3 separate regions of the Homo sapiens genome follow, and regions 1 and 3 are each linked to region 2. Evidence: promoter capture Hi-C in human tissues and cell types (Jung and others, 2019). All regions are on one chromosome and are shown on one strand. Each heading gives the region's core, a stretch centred on a gene start or on the middle of the fragment in contact. The rest is flanking DNA. Distances are from core to core; before and after follow the strand shown. Region 1 overlaps PHC2 (polyhomeotic homolog 2). Region 2 holds the start of A3GALT2 (alpha 1,3-galactosyltransferase 2). Region 3 has its middle 36 kb from the start of TRIM62.

Region 1 (3,989 bases), core at 1,262-3,761, 100 kb after region 2:
TCATGAGGAGTACAGACAAGATAAACCCAAATGAGCTCATTTCAACATACCAGAACCCCAGTCCCGGGACTGAGATGAAACAGAGGATAGACAAGAGAAGCTGAAAACTCAAGAACGTTTGTGTTTAGGACAAATAAAACACTGCAAGCAACTCCAAGACATGGGTGGTGTGTTGTTTCTCAGTATTTCCAGCAGTGAGTCTAGTATCTCACATGCCATTAACAAACTGGGGTTGAATGAACAAACATATATATTCAAGAGTAAACATACTGGCAGTAGACGAGAAGGCTCATTAAAGGTTCTTCGCTAACTGCATGATTCCGTCTCTGGTCTCACTCCTGCCCAAACCACCCTTCACATTGCTGATGTGTTCTTTCTAAAAGGCGGATCTGATCTCGTTACTCCTAAGGGCTTTAACAGCTCCCTATGGCCTCCACCATAAAGTCCAAATTCCTTAGCCTGGTAAACCAAGCCTTTTGTGATTTGATGCCAGCCTACTTTTCAGCCTTATTTCTGCAATGACCCTCCTCAAATGTTCTGCTGTGGTCTTGAAAGGTTGTTTGGAGGTCCCCCCATATGTGTTCTCTCAAGCAAATACAACCTCACCTTTGCAGACATTGCTTCTGTCTGGCTGAGAAGCTTCCTCTTACCCTGTCACTTTCTCCAGAAAACTTTTCCTAACATTTCTAAGCAGGGACCATACTTCTATTATGGTACTAAGTACAATACCATAATTAATGTTTCCATGTCTTTCTTTCTTTAGAAACCTCTGTAGTACCTGGCCTGGGTTCTCCTCATCTTTGAATCCCCCCAGCTGCTAGAGTGAGGTATAGAAGCTTATTAAATGTTTGTTGAATAAATAAATATGATTGTAGAGGCCAAAAATAGAAATAAAGCTTAAATACTCAGGTAAACAAAGACAGAAGGATACTAAAAGGATGGGCAAGCCCATCCCTGTAATCAGAAGATTTTGTCATGGCTTGAAGCTACAATACACCCTTCCAACTGAGCTTTGTTATCATGATCAGAAACCAAATTTTTGGCTGGTTATACAATGGGCCTGACCTAGTACCACATTCCCTACTTATATTATTCCAAACCATTTCTAATACTCTGCCTTTGAGAAAGCAATTTCATTTTCACGGGCTTTAGTGTCACCATCTTATGTGAAGTAACCTCTATTTCAAAATGCCCTAAAAGCCAAGTTCTGCCCTCTTATTCTAATTCTCATTTTCTCTCTCTCTTACTAGGCGGAATGGAAAACTTCCTTGGTAATTTAAGAATGAGAATAGTCTGAGCCTAAATTTACTGTATACTTTAGGCAAGTTATTATACCTTTATACATCTCAACTTTCTCTTCCTTCAAATATCAATTCTATCTAGGAGGCCCCAGGAAATAAAGAAAGGTAAAACCTACACAATTCTTATTATGTACCTCACATTATTAACCTGTTTAATTCTATAATTCTTCGAGGTAGGGACTGTGATTCTCCCCCACTATACCCAAGAAGACTAGAGCAGAGAGAGTACAGATGGAAGGCGGCTGGGAAGTTCACAGCTCATGAGTGGCAGAGGCAAGGCTGGAACCCCAGCATTATGGCTCTAGTGTCCCTGCAGTGAACCCTTACCTCCAACTGCCTCTCTGCAGGCCAGCGGAAGATACTGTGCTTGGAACATAACTCTAGCACATTGAAGTATTAAAGGGCTTAAAAAGTATATACTTTTTCAAACAAATGCAAGCCTTATTTGTAACTGAAAACAAAATAAAAGTGGGAAGAGAAGGAATGGAGACACTGAATGGTAGGCTTCAGATATGGGACAGTGTTCCATATTTCAATCCAAATGCATTTTACAGCCAAGATTTTAAGACCTGAAACCATCCATCCCGTACAGCTAAAATAAGAAGGATCTCATGATTTTAGCCATCAAGGAGACGGATGTGTCCTACACTGGTACTATATCTAAAATTAAGATGACACTGTCACTAGATGAACATCTACTTTGGGGTATGGCTTTATGGACCAATGAATTAGTTTTTTCTCAGGAGCAGCAACCAAAGAATAGAAATAACAGAAGATACACTCCTGTTAAGCTTTTTGTACAGAAGCAGAATTTTATTTCTAGAAACAGCATTAAATATTTAATTAAGTTCACATTACCCTATACTAAAAAAATTAATTTGGGGCAAAACTTGGAAGAACTAGGTGTAATGCAGTACTTTCAAATTATCAACTGCTTATAATTGTATTTCCTTCTGGACAATGAAAATACATATTTTTTATTTAGAAAGTGCTGAATAAGGCCGGGCACATGACTGATGCCTGTAATCCCAGCACTATGGGAGGCCGAGGAGGGCAGATCACGAGGTCAGGAGTTCAACACCACCCTGGACAACGTGGTGAAACCACATCTCTACCAAAAATACAAAAATTAGCCGGGCATGGTGGCACACACCTGTAGTCCTGCTATTCGGGAGGCTGAGGCAGGAGAATCGCTTGAACCTGGGAGGCGGAGGTGGTGCAGTGATCCAAGATTGCACCACTGCACTCCAGCCAGGTCGACAGAACGAGACTCCGTCTCAAAAAAAAAAAAAACAAAAAAAACAAAAAACAAAAAAAAAGAAAGTGCTGAATATTTGTTGAGTAAATTAATACTATTATAGAGATTGATTCATTAATACTATTTTAGAGATAGATTCATTTCCAGATGGTTCCTTAAAACGAACGGGTGCCTTATAATAGTCATCATTTGTTCTGGAGAACTTACTCCTCAAGTCTCTTGAAAAGTCTAAAGCCACCTTTATCTGTACCCATGGTTTCTACATCTTTTCTTCCCCCATTAGAAAGAGAACAGAGAAAGATCAGGTTACATTGCTTCTGTGGGCCTGTAAAAATTCCTGCGAGGTTCTCTCTTCTGTCAGGAAAAGTTTCCCTAGCAACCATATTTACACACTCACTCAATTCCCTCCCCTCCTTTGATTCACTGGTGGGTATAAAAATTAATTTGCATTGATTTGCTGAAGCTTACAAGTTAATCATTCTAATAGACTCACAAAATTTTAGACGCTGGTCTCTGCCCAAAACTTGTTTCTCAAAGGGCCTGTTCACTTTCTTTAGAAATTTGAATGTAATTATCTTCAGTTTAAATATTTTTAAATACATTTAATATGTATTCGGAATGTTTCTGGCTTCAGGTAGAGAAAATAATATTTTTCTAAGGGCATCTGGCCTATATTATTAGTTAGGACGATCAAGAAACAAAGAGATACTTTAGTTCTGAGTAAGCAAGGAGTCAGATTCTTATCCAGCCATAATAAGGCCCTGGAAGATAAAAGTCAAGGACCAAAACAAAAAGTCTGGGTCACATGAAATGATGAATCAGGCCTAAGATTCTGGGTGATCAGAGGTCAGGACCTGGATAACAGGAATGGGACATGAATTATCAAGAATTGAGTTTCATTAATTCATTCACTAAGTATTTGCTGTGCAGCTACTAGGGCATGGTGTCGGGAAAAGAGCAGTGAATAAGCCAGACACAGATGTACCCTCATAAAATTTAAGAGTCAAATATCTGAATAGTGAACAAATGTTGATTTTATTATTGAACCAAGTATCTTTGGACTAGGGGTGCTCACTGTATAATTTCCTATAAGGGCCAGAATTGGTTTCAGACTAGGAATGGCACAGAGACCTATAGATAAAGATAAATTCAAGAAGTCTTCACTGGAGTAGATAAGTTGGCAAGTCAAGCAGTCTTGGACATATACAACGTTTCTTTACATTTAACCTTCAACAACGATATATGAGCCTATCACAGGAAACAAGGCTGGATACTTTGCAATATACCTACGTTTTATAAAGAATAAAGTGAAAGCCGATAAAGGTATGAGTTATTCTTAAGCTCTTTTAACAACCATTTACTGAGCATCTGTGACATTCAAGAAATAGTTTTAGGAACTGAAGTTAAGGGTATGAAAAAGACATGGTCCC
Region 2 (4,071 bases), core at 323-2,822:
GGGGCCTGGTTTTCATTTTCTTCCATAAAGGGAAAATTAAGGTCCAGAAAGTGAAAAGAACTGCCCAGAGTCCTATAGGCCAGTGGTGCACCTGCGCACGTGGCCTGCACTCCAGCAGCAGGAGAGGAGGCAGCACATGGGGCGTTCGTTCTTGCCTGGGGGCTCCCCACGGCTCACTCCCCAATCTCAGCATCCTCTCCTCCCCTGTCAGCTCAGGGTCCTGCCAGTCATTCCCTGCCTCCTGGGGCACCAGGCTTTCCAGTCCCTAGTTCTACCCCCTGGGGATCAACTAATCAGCTTGTTTCTCCTCCAATAAGTATCCGTGTTCTTTAGGTGAAAAGCCCCAACCTACTGCAGGTTTTCAGGGTGCACCTTCAGTAGGCATTTGCCATTCCTGTTTACACTTTACACCAAGGCATTTGCACGGCGGGTAATGGGTGGGGTTGGGCTTTGAGTAGGACTGCCCGATCCCCCAGCCAGAGCTTCCAGCATGGCATTTGGGTTCCATTTGACCTGGGCCTAGCTCAGCCCTGAGGCTCATCTCACAAGGTTCTCGGCCCTGTTATTTCTCCCCGTGGGCTTGGCTTCTTCCCTTCGCACTCTATTCAGCTCCTGTCTGAGCTCCTGGAGGGCTGGCTGCAGCTGGGCTTCTCTGGTTCCTAGAAGCCTGGTCAAACCCCGTACTGGGAGCTGGCAAGGCTGCCTCGGGAGGTGCACTGTGGGAGGTGTGCGAGGTACTGCGTAAGGTACTACAGGAGCAGGAAAAGGCTGGAGGGGCTTTCTCCCCCTCTGTGGCTGTCCCACCCTCTTCACCAGCCTCCTCCCAACCAGGGTAGGGCAAACCGATGCTTATTCTGGGCTCTGGGCCTCAGCCAGGGCACACAGGCAGAGTTGGTCTTGTGAACTCCTGTGGTCAGGCCTGGGAGGGTGCTGAGACCCAGGACTGGGTGGGACCCACCAGCTCCTCCTGCCCCTCCTATGCCCCAGCCTGGGAGCCCGTGGTCTGTGGAGGCCCCTGATCAGTCCACTCCTCCACATTTCTTGTTCAGGTTCTACCTGCAGAAGGTGGTCCCTCAAGCTCCACCCTGTGCCCTGCTCCCCACTCTCGTTGGCTTCAAGAAAGGGTTAAAGATCAGCCATTAGGTCTTAAGGGGGCACAGGTTCCTAGTCCTGGACCATCAGTCCCAGTGGGGATAGAGGGAGCTCTCAGTTACAGTCGGGGAGGGAATGTACCCCCGGGTCTCTGCTTTCCGGCTCGCCAAGGGGGTTTAGAGTTAAGGGAAGCAAGGGGAGTCCAGCTTTTCATTGGCTACAAAATCTTGTGGAATACAACCTCCCCCACCCCGGTGTCCATGCACACGGATTGTCTTTCTTCTCCTGGGGCAATGTCCCCTCTCGGAGCCACCTTTCCCCAGGACTGGAGGCTCAGCTGGTACTCCTGGGCTCACTCTGGTGCCTCCCCTTGGTACTGTTTTAGCCATCAGACTGGATCCCTCTTAGCTCAGCTGTCCCCAAGCTTTCTTCCTCTCCATACCATTGTCCCCCCTCACCTGAGTCCCTCCTTGAGAGCCATATGGGGAAGCAGGTAGGATGGCCTGGAGCAAACTTTCCCAGCTTAGAGCTGGGGAAGAAATGGCCTGCTCCTGGAGATCTGGAACAAGCAGCTCCTCCCCCTTTACCTGAGGAGCTGCACCCACAGGAGCAGTCAGGATGGACTGCCTGCGAGGGACCTGCCGGGGATGCAACCTTTTGGGGGAAGCTGGCCCCAAGGTGGAGTGGGGCTGGCAACCCTTTTGGGGCCAATCACCTGGAAGAGGGTGGGTCTGAGTAGGCCAGTTCTGGTTGGCTGGAGGCTCTGTCATTTTGTACAGACTCCTCTTCCCTCCCCAGGGGAAGTGTCTTTGGTTCTTGGGAACAGCTGGCAATCAAGGTATGGTGTTTGCCACGCAGGAAAAGCCGTTCTGCACAGAGCCTCAGCCAGATCTGAAGGGCACTCGGCACCTGTGACCTTGGACAGTTCACCTAGTGGAGCCCTTTACCTTCTCAGTAGAATGTACACCAGTACATACACCAGTCACCCAGGAGAGAGAACCATGTAAATTCGTGGATGTTGAACCGTTGTGATTTACTCTGGGCAGTGCTTTTTAAAGTTCCAGTTGTGACCTATCTGAAGGCCGTGTAATGAGTTTAGTGGGTCGTGACCAAGATTTTTAAAATACGAACAGGAATACAATGGAAAATATTCTATATTGTACGTAAGGGTAGGTTTTGTTTCATGAAATGTTTGTTTCAGTTGATAGATATTGAAATGTGTATACAAGTTTGGGAAATATTTCTTTAAATTGTGGATCATGATGGAAATAGGTCTGTGAAATTCAGTGTGAAGTGTAAACAACAGGAATAGCAAATGCCTATTGCAGGTGCACCCTGCAAACTTGCAGCAGGTTGGAGCTTTTCATCTAAAGAAGATGGATACTTATTGGTGTGAATCAAATTCACCACATCTTCTTTTAGGAGTAGGTTTGGTTCCCTCCCTCTTTGCTACACACAACAAACTCAGGTGGGGCCTGGTTTTCATTTTCTTCCATAAAGGGAAAATTAAGGTCCAGAAAGTGAAAAGAACTGCCCAGAGTCCTATAGGCCAGTGGTGCACCTGCGCACGTGGCCTGCACTCCAGCAGCAGGAGAGGCGGCAGCACATGGGGCGTTCGTTCTTGCCTGGGGGCTCCCCAGGGCTCACTCCCCAATCTCAGCATCCTCCTCCTCCCGTCAGCTCAGGGTCCTGCCAGCCATTCCCTGCCTCCTGGGACAGGCTTTCCAGTCCCTAGTTCTACCCCCTGGGGATCAACTAATCAGTGTGTTTCTCCTCCAAGACAGTTCCATTTTAATAGGCTTTCCAAAGAGGAGTTATTAAGATGTGAGTGTTGGTTCTTGAAAGTTACTTTCAAGTAAGTAATTGTCCTTTAGAGACTGTGATTCAGTAGGTTGTGGCCTGACCCTCAAACCACCCCCACCCCTGCTTTTTTTTTAAAAAAAAATAGGGTTTTTGTCTGTCACCTGGGTTGGGGGTGCAGTGGTGCAATCATAGCTCACTGCAGCCTTGAACTCTTGGGCTCAAGTGATCGACCTCAGCCTCCAGAATAGCTGGGATTACAGGTATGCACCACCTTGCCATTTTTTGGTATTTTTTTGTAGATATGGGGTCTCTCTATGTTGCCCAGGTTGGTCTCAAACTCCTGGCCTCAAGCAATCCTCCCACATCGGCCTCCCCAAAGTGCTGGGTTTACAGATGTGAGCAGCCATAACCTAAATTTTTAACAGGTAGAAATGGTCCCTTAGGGAAAAACCTGATGAAGGGGGAGGAGCAGTAAGGCCAAGCTGCCTCTTTTTCCCCTCCCCCCATAGATGTGGGGTAGATTTCACTCCACGCAAGAGGGCACATGGTTATTCTGTGCTTCACCCCAGTCTCATTTCTAGCACAGTGCCTGGTTCAGAGGCATGTGGTCAACACAGGTCACGGTTAGCAGCACACACGTCTAATCCAGCCAGCTCACCTGCCTCTCATTTGCACTTCCACGTTCATGCTTGTGCCTTTGCACTTATGCCTCGGTCTGGAATGCCCTTTCTCCTTCTTTATTCAAGGCTTAGATGCCTCATCTCTGCCCTAATCATTTTCTATTTGAGCATGCAAAAGTGCTCAGTGAACCAAAGCCATCCCAAGGCTATTCTGGATGCTGTGCAGCTCTATCGAGAGGTGTGTGCTGGAAGATGGGAGAGTCTGGGTTCTGCCCCAGGTGTCCAGAGGCTGCTAGCCCAACAGTCATCATCTCCCAAGTGGGAATGGCGGGTAGGGGGGCGCAGAGCAGAAAGGGCTTCTGGACCCTCTCACTCCAAGGGACACCGTGTGAAGAAAGCTGGTATCTACCGTGTGAACTGCAGCTGAGGGCACCCTCAAATGACCCAGCTCCAGAAAAGTGTGGAGGATATGCCATCCACTTAAGGTCCCTTCCCCAGCCCAGGGACCCACCTGTCTGTATGGGTGAAAAGTAGCCATTTGGGCCCAGAGACAGGC
Region 3 (4,058 bases), core at 621-3,120, 100 kb before region 2:
TTTCTACAAATCCTCAAATAAATTTTGAAATTGAGCACACATATATAGGAATATGCTGATGCTTGTAATGTTTTCTTAATGTCACGAATTTTTTGAAAAAGGTTTTCTGCCATAAACCAGGGGCCTATATATGCTTATTATGTATAACAAACATGGTTTGAAGCAATGTTTCTCATGATTATAAAAGTAAATACAGTCAAGGTGTTGCCAACTAAACCTTGGGCTAATAATTTTATCTTATTATATGTCAGTATCTCCAACCTGTGATATATTTATAAAAACAAACGTTTCCATAATACTTTAACTCTAAGACCAGTGCTGTACTTATACTGAAAGTGAAATGTAAGACCTCCTATATTCTTCTCCTCTGAAAAAGTTTAGAGAGTTTTTCCATCCCTTGCATTCTAAAGTAAAAGGGGTGGGAGAGGAGGGGAAAATGAGACAGTTTAATTAAATGCAGTTGACTCTTCATTTGACCAGCATCTCTTGTCTGCTCACTGTATGCTAAGCACAGGGCTAGCCACAGACGGTACAAAGATGAATAAAGTATGCTCTTAAGAAACAGAAAAAAGGGCCGGGCGCGATGGCTTATACCTGTAATCCCAGCATTTTGGGAGGCTGAAGCGGGCAGATCATGAGGTCAGGAGTTCGAGACCAGACTGACCAACATGGTGAAACCCCATCTCTACTAAAAATACAAAAATTAGCCAGGCGTGGTGGCAGGCGCCTGTAATCCCAGCTACTCAGGAGGCTGAGACAGGAGAATCCCTTGAACCCAGGAGGCAGAGGTTGCAGTGAGCCGAGATTGTGCCATTGCACTCCAGCGTGGGCCACAGAGCAAGACTCTGTCTCAAAAAAAAAAAAAAAAAAAAGAAACAGGAAAAAAAAAATTCCTCTGGGAGTCAAAGAAGGCTTCCTGGAGGAAAGAACATTTATTTAGGATGATTTTAAAGAAGGATCAAAAGCTTCGCACTTATAGAAGGCAGGAATATAATAATAAATAGAAAGAGTTGCATGAGCCAAGGTACAGGAAGGTAAAAAGACTTGGTAGAGTCAGCACATAGGATGGGCCCCCTGTGCAGGTGGCTGGAGGGGCTGGGCAAGGGCTGCAAATGGAGGGTGGGTTCACATCACTGAAGGCCTTGAATAAGGGCGGTGGGGAACCACAGAGAGCTTTTCCAAGCAGAGGCGACGCGTGGGAGTAGAGTTTTCAGGGAATCCCCCTAGGGTGGTGTAGAGAATGAATTGCTGAGGCGGTTCTGGAGGCAGGAAGACTGGGGATGGAGAGAGGCCACCATCCATCCCTTACAACCCAGCTTCCAGCTCAGCATCAGGAACAGGCACGTGGCACAAAGATGTTCCCAGGGAGCAATGACTTCCTGGCTCAGTGCTAAGGAGGCTAAATTGGAGATAATTGTACTCCCAGCAAATCAGTAACAGCACCATCTCAGTGGAAACCTGCTGCCTAACCTGATCTAACTTCTGACCTTCAGATCCACCTTATGAAGTGAGAGCAGTGAGGAAGGAGCCCTGGCCTAGGGTCTGAAGGCCTGGGTTTTGGTGCCCAATTCAGCACTAGCTCACTGTGTAACCTTGGCCAATTCCCTTGCCCAATCTGAGCCATGTAATCTGTCACTCCTGCCTCACACAGAGGGTGTTAGACCAGCAGGCGTTTTCCTCTCTGACCATCTAGGACTCATTCCAGGCAACTTTACACTGGGTCAGATGCAGCTCCAGATCTCTGCACCCCACCTTAATATCCCAACCACCAGCTTGCTGTCCTAGCAGGGCCACCCCCATCCTACCACTGGGCTCCCCCACCTGGGGAAGCAAGATCTTCTGACTGTTCTCTTTCTTCAGAATGAAAACAACTTTATTGTTTTCATTATTAAAATAATATAGACTCATTAAAAAGAAATTTAAACCATAAGAGAAGTATACAGGAGAAAGTAAAATTTAAGTGAAATCTTATTATACAAAGGTAGCCACCATTAAGATTTTGGTAACAGTCTTCCAAGATAACTCCTTATGTTCACACACACACACAAACACACACCCACAACTTTATGTAAACTGGATCATAGTATTTTAACTATGGTGCAATCTCAGTTTTTCACTCCATAATATGTCATGGATATCTATGTAAAAAATATATTTATCTTATTACTGTCAAAGTTTTACTTTGATTACATACTCACATACAAATATACAATTTACATAAATGTATAAACGTGATCAGCATGAACATGAGCAGAATCCAGTTACGTCTTTATTTTTAGTGGCTCCCTATTTTTCTCTATAGTCCATAGATGGACCATAAACACTGTAGCAGCAAACACCTTTAAACATATATTCTTTTGCATTTTTAGGATAAATTTCTAGATGCAGAACAGTTAGGTAGAAAAATGTAGGGGCTGGGCATGGCAGCTTATGCCTATAATCCAGCACTTTGGAAGGCCAAGGTGGGAGGATCACTCGAGTTCAGGAGTTCAAGATCAGCCTGGGCAACATAGGGAGATACTGCCTCTACAAAAAATTTAAAAATTAGCTGGGCATGGTGGTGTATGCCTATGGTCCACGCTACTTGAGAAACTGAGGCAGGAGGATGACTTGAGCCCTGGAGGTCGAGGCTGCAGTGCCCTGTGATTACACACACCACTGCACTCCAGCCTGGACCCTGTCTCAAAAAAAAATGTGAATATTAAAATTTTTGATATTGCCCTCCAAAAAGCTAGTACCAATCTCACTGCTACTGACAATACATGAATGCCTGTTTCTCAGCACTCTTTCTAAAAGAAGGCATTGTCAATTTGTAATCTAACAGGTGAACTTGTCATTATTGTTTTTATTATCATTTATTTGGTTATTAGTGAAATTGATCATCTGCTTATTGGCTATTTGGATGTTTTCTTTTGTGAAATGGCCTGTTTATGTCCTTTGTCTATTTTTTTCTGTTGGATTAAATTTGTTTGTTTCTTATTGCTTTTTAAGAACTCTTTGTATATTAGGGATTTAACCTTAACCCATCTGGTTTCTCAGGGTCCGTGGAGTTGGGCAATGTAGTCCCCTGTGAAGTCAGATTCCCAAGAGATTGGAACAGTTCTGCCTCTGGTCAGTGGAGGGCAGCAGTGGCAGCAACATTCACTTTCAGGCTGGACGCACAGGTCTGCCCAGGAGCTGGACATACACACACACACACACACACACACACACACACACACACACACACACACATACACCACCCCCTGCCCCCCCGCAAGAGACTTCCTTCCTTTCTCAGGAAGCCACTTGATTCACTGACCCTTAAGGGCCCCAAACACAAATTATTTCCCCTTAGTCTCTAGAGATAACCTCTAAACATTGAAGAGAATCAGGCTCTGAAGTTAGACTGGAGTTCAAAATCCAACTCTGTCATCTCCTGGCTGGGGGCTGGGTGTGACATTCATGACCTCTGTACCCTCAATTTCCCCATCTGTGAAATGGGTCCAGTGGTACCCACCTTCACTGGGTATGATGACGGTAAAGTGTACGGTTGGCGCTCAGTGAGTGTGAGCCCACAGTGGGCCTGCCCAGCCCACTTCCCAACCTCTGCCCGCCATTCATTCATCGGCGGACCAGAGACAAGTTGGCTCCTGCTGTCTCAAGCCTGCCCACATGTTTGATTAATTCTGTGTCTAAGAAAGATTCACTGGGTAGTATGGAGGGAGATTGCAGGGCAGGAGCCCAGCGAGGAAGGGGAGGACTCGTGAAGACCTAACCAGGTAGCATGGGCAGCAGGGCCCAACAGGAAGATATGGTGTTCCCAGGCAGAAAAGGCCAGCACATGGCCGTGGGTGAGATGTGCTGGCCAGGAGAGGGGTGAGACGGGGCATGCCCAGGTTTCCTATCTGAGGGACTGTGTGGACAGCCAAGGAGTAGGGGCAGTTTTGACATGGGGTAAGTTCTGCTTGAATTCTGCTGAGTTTGAGGTGCTGGAGGGACTTCCAGGATGCTTTCAGCAGTGGCAAATCACAGCTCTAGCCTGACCTCTCCCCATCTCTCACACCTGAAAAACCTGG

The links. Contacts are between HindIII fragments. The study calls those that stand out against the background at their distance.
Region 1: a fragment that was not itself captured here is called in contact with the fragment with the promoter of A3GALT2 in region 2 in 4 of the 25 tissues and cell types used here (H1 embryonic stem cells, IMR-90 fibroblasts, dorsolateral prefrontal cortex and 1 more).
Region 3: a fragment that was not itself captured here is called in contact with the fragment with the promoter of A3GALT2 in region 2 in 3 of the 25 tissues and cell types used here (adrenal gland, hippocampus and liver).

Annotation. Positions count from the first base shown.
Region 1 is chr1:33,421,518-33,425,506 of GRCh38, forward strand. All of the region lies in intron 1 of PHC2 (polyhomeotic homolog 2), which reads right to left. Among named protein-coding and RNA genes, the nearest start is that of PHC2, 7.6 kb to the right of the region's middle. The HindIII fragment of the contact is 3,548 bases long and covers 738-3,989 here.
Region 2 is chr1:33,319,526-33,323,596 of GRCh38, forward strand. A3GALT2 (alpha 1,3-galactosyltransferase 2) reads right to left here and starts at 1,573. Exons shown (of 5, transcript NM_001080438.1): 1 at 1,551-1,573. The coding sequence starts at 1,573. The HindIII fragment of the contact is 15,797 bases long and covers 1-4,071 here.
Region 3 is chr1:33,215,748-33,219,805 of GRCh38, forward strand. It overlaps a transcript of ZNF362 not described here. Among named protein-coding and RNA genes, the nearest start is that of TRIM62, 36 kb to the left of the region's middle. RefSeq lists an enhancer at 3,661-4,058. The HindIII fragment of the contact is 7,640 bases long and covers 1-4,058 here.